Regions from separate parts of the Homo sapiens genome. Here all the other regions are linked to region 4. Evidence: promoter capture Hi-C in 16 types of primary human blood cells and fetal thymus (Javierre and others, 2016). All regions are on one chromosome and are shown on one strand. The core of a region is centred on a gene start or on the middle of the fragment in contact, and the rest is flanking DNA. Distances in the headings are between cores, read along the strand shown. Region 1 overlaps PLXNB3-AS1 (PLXNB3 antisense RNA 1). Region 2 overlaps BCAP31 (B cell receptor associated protein 31). Region 3 overlaps TKTL1 (transketolase like 1). Region 4 holds the start of IRAK1 (interleukin 1 receptor associated kinase 1).

Region 1 (2,700 bases), core at 149-2,648, 260 kb after region 4:
CCAAAGTGCTGGCCCGTGAGCCTGTGAGCCACTGCGCCTGGCTACCTTCTTTTGAATTCCCATTCAGACTGTGTGTTGCTGGTACATAGAAAAACAATGGATTTCTATGTATCAAGTAACCTTGTAAACTCTCATATTAAGTCTAATAATTATGTTTGGGTTCTCTTTGTGGATTCTTTTTGATTTTCTGCGTACACAATCCTATCATCTGCAAGTAATGACCATTTTGTTTCTTCTATTCCAGTCTTTTTAGCTTTGATTTCTTTTTTTGAGGCAGAGTCTGGCTCTGTCACCCAGGCTGGAGTATAGTGGCACAATCTTGGCTCACTGCAACCTCCGCCTCCCTGGTTCAAGCAGTTCTCCTGCCTCAGCCTCCCAAGAAGCTGGGACTACAGGCACCCACCACCACGCCTGACTAATTTTTGTATCTTTACCAGACACAGGGTTTCACCATGTTGGCCAGGCTGATCTGGAACTCCTGATCCACCTGCCTTGGCCTCCCAAAGTGCTAGGATTACAGGCGTGAGCCACTGTGCCCGGCTGATTTCGTTTCCTTGCTTTACTTCCCTGGACTTGCTTTCTCTTGCTTTTACTTCCTTTGAATGAAAGCATAGGAGGCGCTGGGCATGGTGGCTCACGCCTGTAATCCCAGCACTTTGGGAGGCCGAGGTGGGTGGATCACCTGAGGTCAGGAGTTCGAGACCAGCCTGACCAACATGGAGAAACTCTGTCTCTACTAAAAATACAAAAAAATTAGCCGAGCATGGTGGCCCATGCTTGTAATCCCAGCTACTTGGGAGGCTGAGGCAGGAGACTCGCTTGAACCCAGGAGGCCGAGGTTGCGGTGAGCCAAGATCGAGCCATTGCACTCCAGCCTGGGCAACAAAAGCGAAACTCTGTCTCAAAAAAAAAAAAAAAAAAAAAAAAAAAGCATAGGAGGCATTCTCAGTGTTCCATTATTAAGTATGATGTTTGCAGGGAGCATTCGGTAGATATGTTTATCAGATTTAGAAAGCTCCCTCCCATTCCTAGTGTGCTATATGTTGAATTTTTATAAAATGCTTTTTCTGAATGCATTAATATGATCACAGGGTTTTCCTCCTCTAATCTGTTAATGTGGCAAATTACATTAATTCATTTTTAAATGTTAAACCACTCTTGTATTTTCTGGACTAAACTCAACTTTGCGTGATGTATTTTTTTCATATACAATTCTGGATTGGGTGGTTTTTTTTTTTTTTTTTAGCCTCGTATTATTATCCTCGTCTGGTTTTGGTATCAAGACATCGTAAAGTGAGTTGAGGCAGTATTTCCTTTTTCAGCTGTTCACTGGAACAGTTAGTCTAAGATGGAGATGATCAGTTACTTCCATGTTTGCTGGAGATCATCTGTAAAACCATCTAGGCCTTCCTTGTTTTTTATTTTCTGTTTTTTGTTTTGTTTCTTTTCTTTTCTCTTCTTTGTTTTTTTTGTTTTGTTTTGTTTTGTTTTGTTGTTGTTTTGAGACAGAGTCTCACTCTGTTGCCCAGGCTGGAGTGCAGTGGTACAGTCTTGGCTTACTGCAACCTCTGCCTCCTGGGTGCAAGCGATTCTCCTGCCTCAGCCTCCCGAGTAGCTGGGACTGCAGGCATGCACCACCACGTCCAGCTAAGTTTTGTATTTTTAGTAGAGACGGTGTTTCGCCATGTTGGCCAGTCTGGTCTTGAACTCCTGACCTCAGGTGATCTGCCTGCCTCGGCCTCACAAAGTGCTGGGATTACAGGCATGAGCCACCGCATCTGGCCTGGCCTTCCTTGTTTTTGTAGCTTCCTGCCTGTCCCCCTATAGATTTTAAACAATGAATCCAACTTCTGTAATAATTATGGGACCATTTAGGTTTTCTGTTTCTTCTTGAGTAATTTTTTTATTGTGGGAAAAAATACATAACACAAAATTTGCCATCTTTTTTTTTTTTTTTTTTGAGACAGGTCTTGCTCTGTTGCCCAGGCTGGGGTGCAGTGGCATAATCATTGTAACCTCAAACTCCTGGTCTCAAGCAATTCTCCTGCCTCAGCCTCCTGGGTAGCTGGGACTATAGGCATTCACCACCATGCCCAGCTAATTTTTAATTTAATTTTTTTTTTTGAGACAGATCTCACTTTGTCACCCAGGCTGGAGTACAGTGGCGTGATCTCAGCTCACTGCAACCTCTGCCTCCCGGGTTCAAGCAATTTTTGTGCTTCAGCCTCAAATTTTTAATGTTTTTGGTAGAGATGGGATCTTGTTACTTTGCCCAGGCTGGTCTCCCATTCCCAGACTCAATCAATCCTCCTACCTTGGCTTCCCAAAGCACTGGGATTACAGGTGTGAGCCACCATGCCCAGCCTCCAACTTTATTCTTTTGCATGTGGATATCAAGTTTCCCCTATACCATTTGTTGAAAAGACTGCCCTTTTCCCAATTTGTAGCCTTGATACCCTTGTCAAAAATCATCTGACCATATACTTGAGAGTTTCTTTCTGGGCTCTGGATTATATTCTGTCTCTGTCTTTATGCCAGGACCACACTGTAATATGTTTTATTTTGTAAATCAGGAAGTGTGAGTCCTCGAACTTTGTTCTCCTTTTTCAGAATTGTTTTGGTTATTTGGAGCCCCTTGAGATTCTATCTGAATTTAGGATGAATCATTCTATTTTGAGTCAATTTTTGATAAACAATATT
Region 2 (2,700 bases), core at 119-2,618, 300 kb after region 4:
CTGTCCTTTTTGTCTTCTTCACAGATGGCAGAAGATTTTCAAGTCCCGGCTGGTGGAGTTGTTAGTGTCCTATGGCAACACCTTCTTTGTGGTTCTCATTGTCATCCTTGTGCTGTTGGTCATCGGTGAGTGAGCTATGGCTGAGGGCAGCTACCTGACCTAGACCCTGGTCTCTGCTGCAAAACCCTTTGCCACTTTTGATGTGTAGCATCCAGTTTTGGCTGCTAGGAGACAGACCAATGAAATGCTGTGTCTTTCTCTTGAGGGAGGGAAGAGGCTCCCTTTGCCCATGCTGCTGACCGCTAGTCGGTTCTTCACTTTGAGGCCCCTCTAGGCCGTACATGGTGGCTCATGCCTGTAATCCCAGCACTTTGGGAGGCTGAGGTCGGTGGATCACCTGAGATGAGGAGTTCGAGATCAGCCTGGCCAACGTGGTGAAACCCCATCTCTACGAAAAATACAAAATTAGCTGGGCGTGGTGGCGGGCACCTGTAATCCCAGCTACTTGGGAGACTGAGGCAGGAGAATTGCTTGAACCCACGAGGCAGAGGTTGCAGTGAGCCTAAATCGCACCATTGCACTCCAGCCTGGGCAACAAGAGGGAGACTCCATCTCAAAAAAAAAAAAAAGAGGCCCCTCTAGCAGTGGGCGTGGGCTTATACCAAGCAGTTTGTATGCAGCTTATGACGGCCACCTTACATTGCTTTTTTTCAAGACCTTGGAAGGAGGGACGCCTAAGGTTTCTGAGGCTGCTCCTCAGGTCACTCTAGAACTGAAGCCAAGAGAAGCTAACTGGCCTGTGACCTTGGTCTGAGTAGTGCTGCTCACCAGTCACTTAAACAGCAGAATTGCCTGGAGCAGGGCCTCTAATGGGGGACTGAGCAACCAAGCACACAGTGAAGTCCTGCCATTCCCTGTAGTAGTAGGAGGAGAACACAGAGATGTGTGGCAGCATATCTTGGGGAGAGATCCTAGACCTCTCTGCATCTGGGCTAGACTTGAGGTTTTCCCAGGTCGTTCCAGCTCTGTAGTTCTGTAAACTCTGACATTGAGGTGTACACTAGCAGGTGCTTGAAAGATAAACTGGTCCAAGGGCAAGCAGGCTCTGGGATAAGGCCAGGCCAGGTGGTGGTAAGATGAAAGGCAGACATTTTGCAATGAGGTGGTAGGGTGACCATCTGGAGACAAGAATCAATAAAGCTCTTGTCTGACTGGTAGATGTTTGTTGTTTTGCTGTGGTAAGTGATCGATATGTCCCCCTGTTTGGGCTCCAAAGTATTGGCTTGGCTCTGCTGTGGACACCACTCTTGTCTCAGAGCTGTGGTGCCTGCCTAGGCGTGGAACACTCCTCCCACCGAGTCCCAGCAGAAACACTGAGCGGGTGGGGGGCTGTGGTTCAGGGGAATGTGCAAAGCCTCACCCACCAGCTTCAGCATTAGGCATTTCTCCTTCCTGATGTCTCAGAGCCTGATAGGATATGTTCAGGCTGGACTGCCTCTGAACAGGCCAAGTGTTACCTGACAGCTTCCAACCACATAGGGTAGGTGCCAGCTGCCTGAGCACCTCAGTGTTCTTGAAATACTTGGCAAGGCCCCAAGAGGTAGTAGCTCTTTCTAACCAGGGTTCTCGCCCTGAGCAGCCTCCAAGCCAGGAGTAGGTAGGTAATATATGTGTCATCCCCAGGCCACTGAGTTTTTGAACTGAGCATGTGTGTTTTGGCTTTTGGGTCTGGGGTGGGGGTAATAACTGGGGAGGGGAGGGACCATGCTGAGGATGATTCCCTCAGGGTCTTGCCCCTTCCCCAAACCAGAAGGAGTATGTTTCTTTCCTAGAGCAGCTGAGTGGGCTGGAGAGATCCTTTGCGGAATCCAGTAGTTGACAAAGCCTTCATTCTTTTTTGGGATCGGGGAACTGCTTGGAAGTTCTAGGGGGACATATGGCCATGATGACTGGCTGCTTCCTACTCCCATGTTAAGAAGCATAATCTAGAAAGATCTGCAGAGCCTTCTTCAAACAGAAGTGTTAGTCACAGGTACTAGTGAAGGGTAAGGGGCATAACTAGCTAGAGCTGTGGCCTTGCTTGGGGGTGGGGAGGGTTGAGCAGATCCTCCTGGAGGATGGAGTTGCTGAGGGTGCAGGATCTTCCCACCTGGGCTGAGGCCCGAGACAGGGAGGGCTGGTTTCTACTGTGGGACTTGGGTTAGTATTGCTCAGTCCCCCATCCCCACTATTGGTCATTGGCCAAGGTGGTCCTTAGGATGGTGGGGTTCCTGGATGCAGGTGACAGTGTAAGGAAACATGTTTATCTTGTTTTTCTGATTACAAAAATAATGGGTAATTATTCTTAAAAATTCAAAAGTTGAATTTAGAAAGTTAAACTCCCCATAATCCCATTTCCCACAGGTAACCATCATGAGTATTTTGTTGTGCATTTCCAGAGGGGTTTTGTATGCTGACATCTTTAATAAAATGTCTACAACGGTGGGATCATACACACAAAGTATTTATGTTTCTTTCCACATTCCTGCTGGGACATGGCAGGAGGAGCATTCCACGCCTGAGCTGGTAGCACAGCTCTGAGATAAGACTGCTGTCCATAGCAGAGCCTAGCCAATACTTTGGATTGTGCTTTTTCTACCTGCTGCACGTTAGACATCTTTTTTTTTTTTTTTTTTTTTTGAGATGGAATCTCACTTTGTT
Region 3 (2,700 bases), core at 130-2,629, 280 kb before region 4:
TCAGAGAACACGATGACCTGAATGAGCAAGAAGATGGTGGGGGGCGGGGGGTAGGGTGGAAGCCAGCTAGGACTCGGTAGTGACAAATGCATAACTATTTGCTTATTTTCAGTGCCTTTTGCTTCAAGTGAGAGGTTTCTGCTCTCCCATGGTGAAGTGTGAGGCATAAATCCTGCTTCATTATGGGGGACTTCCAGGGGGGTGGCACGCAGCCCAGGAGTCCCCCTGGCATGATGAGGGGGAAGTTGGGAAAGAGAAGCAGAAAAGAAAATGGAAGGGGGCCAAACGCAGGAGGTGTGAGGAGGAAAGCCAAGGAAGACGAGGGAAGAGGGAATGATAAAAAGGAGGGAGAGGCCAGGCGTGGGGGCTCACACCTGTAATCCCGGCTCTTCTGGAGGATGATGCAGGAGGATTGCTTGAGCCCAGGAGTTTGAGACCAGCATGGGCAACATGGTGAAACCTCGTCTTTCCAAAAAAAAAAAAAAAAAAAAAAAAAAAAAAAATTAGCTGGGCAGGGTGGCATGCACCTGCAGTTCAAGCTACTTGGGAGGCTGAGGTGGGAGGGTTGCTTAAGCCCAGGAGGTCAAGGCTGTAGTGAGCCATGATCACGCCACTGCACCTCTAGGCTGAGCAACAGAGTGAAACCCTGCCTCAAAATAAATAAATAAATAAATAAATAAATAAATAAATAAATAAATAAATAAAAATTTTAAAAAATGGGGAATGAGAGGTAGGGTCTAATAAGTAGAAGGCAAGGTAGGAGGCTGGCGCAGGAAACGAGTCAGGGTGTTATTTTGTGCGCTAATGCAATGGGTTAACGCATTCGTTTCCTAAGCCTGCCAGGGTGAGTTGCCACAAACGTGATGGCTCAAAACAGAAATCCAGAATCCAGGTGGCAGCAGGGCCACGCTCTCTCCCTAGGTCCTAGGGGAGGATCGCCCTCGCCCCTGCCTCTCCAGCTACTGCTGGCCCTAGGTGTTCTTCGTCTTGCAGCTGGGTCACTCCCGTCCCTGCCTCTCTGCCTTCACAGGACCTTTTCTCCTGCGTTTCTCCACGGTGTCTGTGTGTCTCCAATCTCTCTTTTCTTTCTCTTATAAGGACACTAGTCACTGGATTTAGGGTCCACCCTAAGTCCAGGATGATCTTATCTCAAGATCCTTAACTTAATTTCACCTACAAAACCCTATTTCCAAATAAGATCACATTCACAGGTACGGGAGGCCATGGACTGAATGTGTCCCCCCAGAATTCCTATGCTGAAATCCTAATGCCAGTGTGACAGTATTTGGAGGCAGGGCCTTTGGGAGGTGATTACGCTGTGAGAGTGGAGCCCTCATGAATGGGATCAGCGCCTTTATGAGAAGAGGCTGGAGACCGACCATGTGAGGATACGGGGGGGAAGGTAGTGCTCTTGAGCCCAGTAGCAGGTCCTCGCCAGAACTGACCATGCTAGCACCTTGATCTTGGATTTGTAGCCTCCAGACAGTGAGAGACGAATATCTGCTGTTTAAGCCACCCAGTCTTGGCATTTCTTATAACAGCCCTAAGTGATAACTGATTTGGGTGCCCCTATTCAACCCTTGTTTTGACTTAGATGACATTCTCTACAGGGAAAATTTCTTAGGACTATTGGACAAAATGTAAAGTTCTCTTCTTGCTTTTTGCTTTGTTTTGCAAAAAAAAAAGAAAGAGGAATGGGTCAACCAGAACATCTGGAAAGTCTGGAGTATCACTGAGGAAACACAGGGCGATTGAGAACCCGAAAGTGAATGGAAACCTACGATAGAAGTGAGATATGCTTTTCTGTTGTCACCTCATCGGACTGTGTGTGATGACACAAATGCCAATAGCCGGCAAACAGCGAGGAAACCAACATGATCCTGACAGTTTCAGGAGTGCCCACGCTGAATGATTTTTAAGTTGACTATCTGCCTAAAATAAATAATTGTCTCATTTAAAAAAAAAAAAGAAAAAAGAAAATGGGGACTTAGGCCGGGCACAGTGGCTCATGCCTGTAATCCCAGCATCTTGGGAGGCCGAGGTGGGCGGATCACCTGAGGTCGGGAGTTCGAAACCAGCCTGACCAACATGGAGAAACCCCGTCTCTACTAAAAAAAAAAAAAAAAAGAAAGAAAATGGGGACTAAAACCTCTTGCTTTGCAAATGTCCTGTAAGTGGATGATTTAGATTTAAAAGCCACACAGATCCCTTGAGAAAATGCAGCCATCTGTTACTAATTTTGAAGGTGAAGGGAACAAAATGAACATGTACAAAAAATTCAGACATATATGGTTCTTAACTGCATCCACACTGTCCTCTTACTATCTAGCCCAGGCTCTGGAGCAAGATTTATTTATTTATTTTTTGAGACACAGTCTCACTCTGTTGCCCAGGCTGGAGTACAGTGGCACTCTCTCGGCTCACTGCAACCTCCACCTTCCGGGTTCAAGTGATTTTCCTGCCTCGGCCTCCCAAGTATCTGGGATTACAGAGGTGCACCACCACGCCCGGCTAATTTTTGCATTTTTAGTAGAGACAGGGTTTCACCATGTTGGCCAAGCTGGTCTCAAACTCCTGACCTCAGGTGATCCACCCCACCTCAGCCTCCCAAAGTGCTGGGATTACAGGCATGAGCCACCGCGCCTGGCCAACAAGATTTAAAAAAACATATTGCACTAAGTATTTTCTCTAACCACAATG
Region 4 (2,700 bases), core at 201-2,700:
CGGGAAGGGCCTGGCATGAGTCAGCCTGCAGCACAACCTCCCTGCTCCAGACCCGTATGGTAGGGGCACCCCCTAGGTCTGGATGTGCTGTGGTGCTTTTGGACACCCCCACCCCCGCAGGCTGTGGCTCCTCCTGTGTCTCATTCTGGCCAGGACCCTCACGTGCCCTCTGTTGACTGCTAACGTGGTTCTCTGACCAGGCAAGGGCAGGCTGAGGGGTTTGCCCAAAGGGGGCCCCCTTGTTACTGGCTTCCTTGGCTCTCAGGAGCAGCCTCACCAGGTTGGTAAGGGGCTGGAGGAGACAACTGCTCAAAGGAGTCCAGCTTCACATGCACATGCTAGAAGGTACCCTCGGAAGGCCTGGCCTTCAAAGGTAGATCCCAGGGTTGAAAAGTCAACTTGTATGCATTGAGCATCTCGTATGCCAGCCCTGTTCCGTGAGCTGATGGGCCTTTGTGTGTAAGTAGGACCAAGTGCCCCCGTGGAGGTTAGCATGGGTGTGCAGTCATTTCAGATACTTGAGTTGGTACATCTCAGTAAAGTCTGTCCCGTGAGAAGCCATGGGTTTCATGGTATGGTTGGCATCTTCCTTGGGAGTGGCCACAGTGGTGGTGGCTTCAGGAAAGAGACTCCAACAGGGGCCAGCTGTGGGCCTTGGGCACTTCTCGTTTCTAGGAAAAGTCCTAAGTCTGTAGGGCTAGGGGTGGGGAACCCCTTCGCTGTCAGGATCAAGAGGGCAAGGGGAACTGTCGCTGGAGGAGACATCCAGCTGGAGAAACAAAAGAGTAAGTCTGCGTTGCTGCTTGTGGGGTCTTCCCCATCTCAGGGCGGGGACCGGGGGTGGCGGTCCAGACAAGTAATCAAGGACGATGCCCAGGAGGGGACAGGTACGGGGTGGCAGGAGCTCTGCCGGCGGGCTCAGGAAGCCTTCACCACAGCTGCCTGAGCTCACCCTTGCCAAATGAGGGCTGGGGCAGCAGCAACGCATACACTCACGGCTGTGGCGGGCAGCGTTCTCGGCATATTTCAGGACACCTAAGGAGACTGAATGGCTCAAGGCTGCTGCCGTGTGCAGGGGGCTAGACGTGGGGCGGGCAGGCAGGGCTCCTGGTAACAGCCCTGCAGGCCGCAGTGGAGAGCAGGGTTCCGGCAGGGCCGCCCAGGAGCTTTCGGAAGGCCCGGCCCCGGCCCCTTTCCGAGCAGCCCGGGCCTCCGCCCTGCCCTCTGTCCCCAACGCCGGGAGCCGCCGTTCGTCCTCCAGAGCCCCGCCCGGGCGAGCCCGGGAGGCCGATCGCCGCTCGCGGAACCCGCCGGGACCCGGGCCCTCCCCGGCGCGGGGCGCCCCCGTGTGACCCAGCGCGCGGCCGCGGCGCGCAAGATGGCGGCGGGCCCGGGCACCGCCCCTTCCGCCCCGCCGGGCGTCGCACGAGGCCGGCTCGAAGGGGAAGTGAGTCAGTGTCCGCGGACCCGGCCGGCCCAGGCCCGCGCCCGCCGCGGCCCTGAGAGGCCCCGGCAGGTCCCGGCCCGGCGGCGGCAGCCATGGCCGGGGGGCCGGGCCCGGGGGAGCCCGCAGCCCCCGGCGCCCAGCACTTCTTGTACGAGGTGCCGCCCTGGGTCATGTGCCGCTTCTACAAAGTGATGGACGCCCTGGAGCCCGCCGACTGGTGCCAGTTCGGTGGGTGGCGGCGGGCTGCCGGGGGGCGGGAGGCGCGCGGGCTCCTGGCGCCGACGCCTGACGCCCCCCGCCCCGCAGCCGCCCTGATCGTGCGCGACCAGACCGAGCTGCGGCTGTGCGAGCGCTCCGGGCAGCGCACGGCCAGCGTCCTGTGGCCCTGGATCAACCGCAACGCCCGTGTGGCCGACCTCGTGCACATCCTCACGCACCTGCAGCTGCTCCGTGCGCGGGACATCATCACAGCCTGTGAGCGCGGGACTCCGGGCACCCCACGGCTGGGAGGCCGGCGGGCCCCACGGGGCTCCCCCACCCGGGCCTCAACCTTCCTTTCCTTCCTTGGCGTCCCAGGGCACCCTCCCGCCCCGCTTCCGTCCCCAGGCACCACTGCCCCGAGGCCCAGCAGCATCCCTGCACCCGCCGAGGCCGAGGCCTGGAGCCCCCGGAAGTTGCCATCCTCAGCCTCCACCTTCCTCTCCCCAGGTAAGAGGGCCCGGTTGTTAGGCTCGGTGGACCCAAAGAAGAGCCCACCTTGACCACGGCCACGGCTGTAGACCCTGCTGCTGGTCTCTGCCTGCCTCTCACTGGTGTCTTTATGAAGCTTTTCCAGGCTCCCAGACCCATTCAGGGCCTGAGCTCGGCCTGGTCCCAAGCCCTGCTTCCCTGTGGCCTCCACCGCCATCTCCAGCCCCTTCTTCTACCAAGGTAGGTGTCCCCTGCCCCCCAGGGAAGATTCGAGACAAGGAGGAAGGAATTCAGCCTTTGATGTAGCGCAGAGCCCCAGTCAGCCAAGCTGGGTCAGCTGGGAGGCAGCTGTGGTGGGGAGAGCCTGGAGCCTTGGGCAGAAGGGAAGAGACAGGGACCCCACCTGATCCAGGCTCTCTTCCCACAGCCAGGCCCAGAGAGCTCAGTGTCCCTCCTGCAGGGAGCCCGCCCCTTTCCGTTTTGCTGGCCCCTCTGTGAGATTTCCCGGGGCACCCACAACTTCTCGGAGGAGCTCAAGATCGGGGAGGGTGGCTTTGGGTGCG

The links. The method cuts DNA at HindIII sites, captures the fragments that hold promoters and counts their contacts. A CHiCAGO score of 5 or more calls a contact.
Region 1: a contact is called between a fragment that was not itself captured here and the fragment with the promoter of IRAK1 in region 4, in 2 of 17 cell types (non-activated CD4 T cells and activated CD4 T cells). The highest score is 7.0, in non-activated CD4 T cells.
Region 2: a contact is called between a fragment that was not itself captured here and the fragment with the promoter of IRAK1 in region 4, in 2 of 17 cell types (non-activated CD4 T cells and fetal thymus). The highest score is 6.1, in non-activated CD4 T cells.
Region 3: a contact is called between a fragment that was not itself captured here and the fragment with the promoter of IRAK1 in region 4, in 8 of 17 cell types (M0 macrophages, monocytes, total CD8 T cells and 5 more). The highest score is 9.4, in M0 macrophages.

What each region holds. Positions count from the first base shown.
Region 1 is chrX:153,758,720-153,761,419 of GRCh38, reverse strand. All of the region lies in intron 2 of PLXNB3-AS1 (PLXNB3 antisense RNA 1), which reads left to right. Among named protein-coding and RNA genes, the nearest start is that of PLXNB3, 4.2 kb to the left of the region's middle. The HindIII fragment of the contact is 6,541 bases long and covers 1-2,700 here.
Region 2 is chrX:153,718,297-153,720,996 of GRCh38, reverse strand. It overlaps BCAP31 (B cell receptor associated protein 31), which reads left to right. Exons shown (of 8, transcript NM_001256447.2): 3 at 25-125. Among named protein-coding and RNA genes, the nearest start is that of BCAP31, 4.7 kb to the left of the region's middle. The HindIII fragment of the contact is 5,559 bases long and covers 1-2,700 here.
Region 3 is chrX:154,301,183-154,303,882 of GRCh38, reverse strand. All of the region lies in intron 1 of TKTL1 (transketolase like 1), which reads right to left. Among named protein-coding and RNA genes, the nearest start is that of TKTL1, 6.7 kb to the right of the region's middle. The HindIII fragment of the contact is 3,860 bases long and covers 1-2,700 here.
Region 4 is chrX:154,018,652-154,021,351 of GRCh38, reverse strand. IRAK1 (interleukin 1 receptor associated kinase 1) reads left to right here and starts at 1,450. Exons shown (of 14, transcript NM_001569.4): 1 at 1,450-1,675; 2 at 1,754-1,921; 3 at 2,024-2,155; 4 at 2,274-2,377; 5 at 2,565-2,700. The coding sequence starts at 1,540. MIR718 (microRNA 718) reads left to right here and starts at 1,363; the gene lies at 1,363-1,432. RefSeq lists enhancers at 331-400, 516-1,485 and silencers at 1,171-1,550, 1,901-2,000, 2,011-2,080. The HindIII fragment of the contact is 4,941 bases long and covers 1-2,275 here.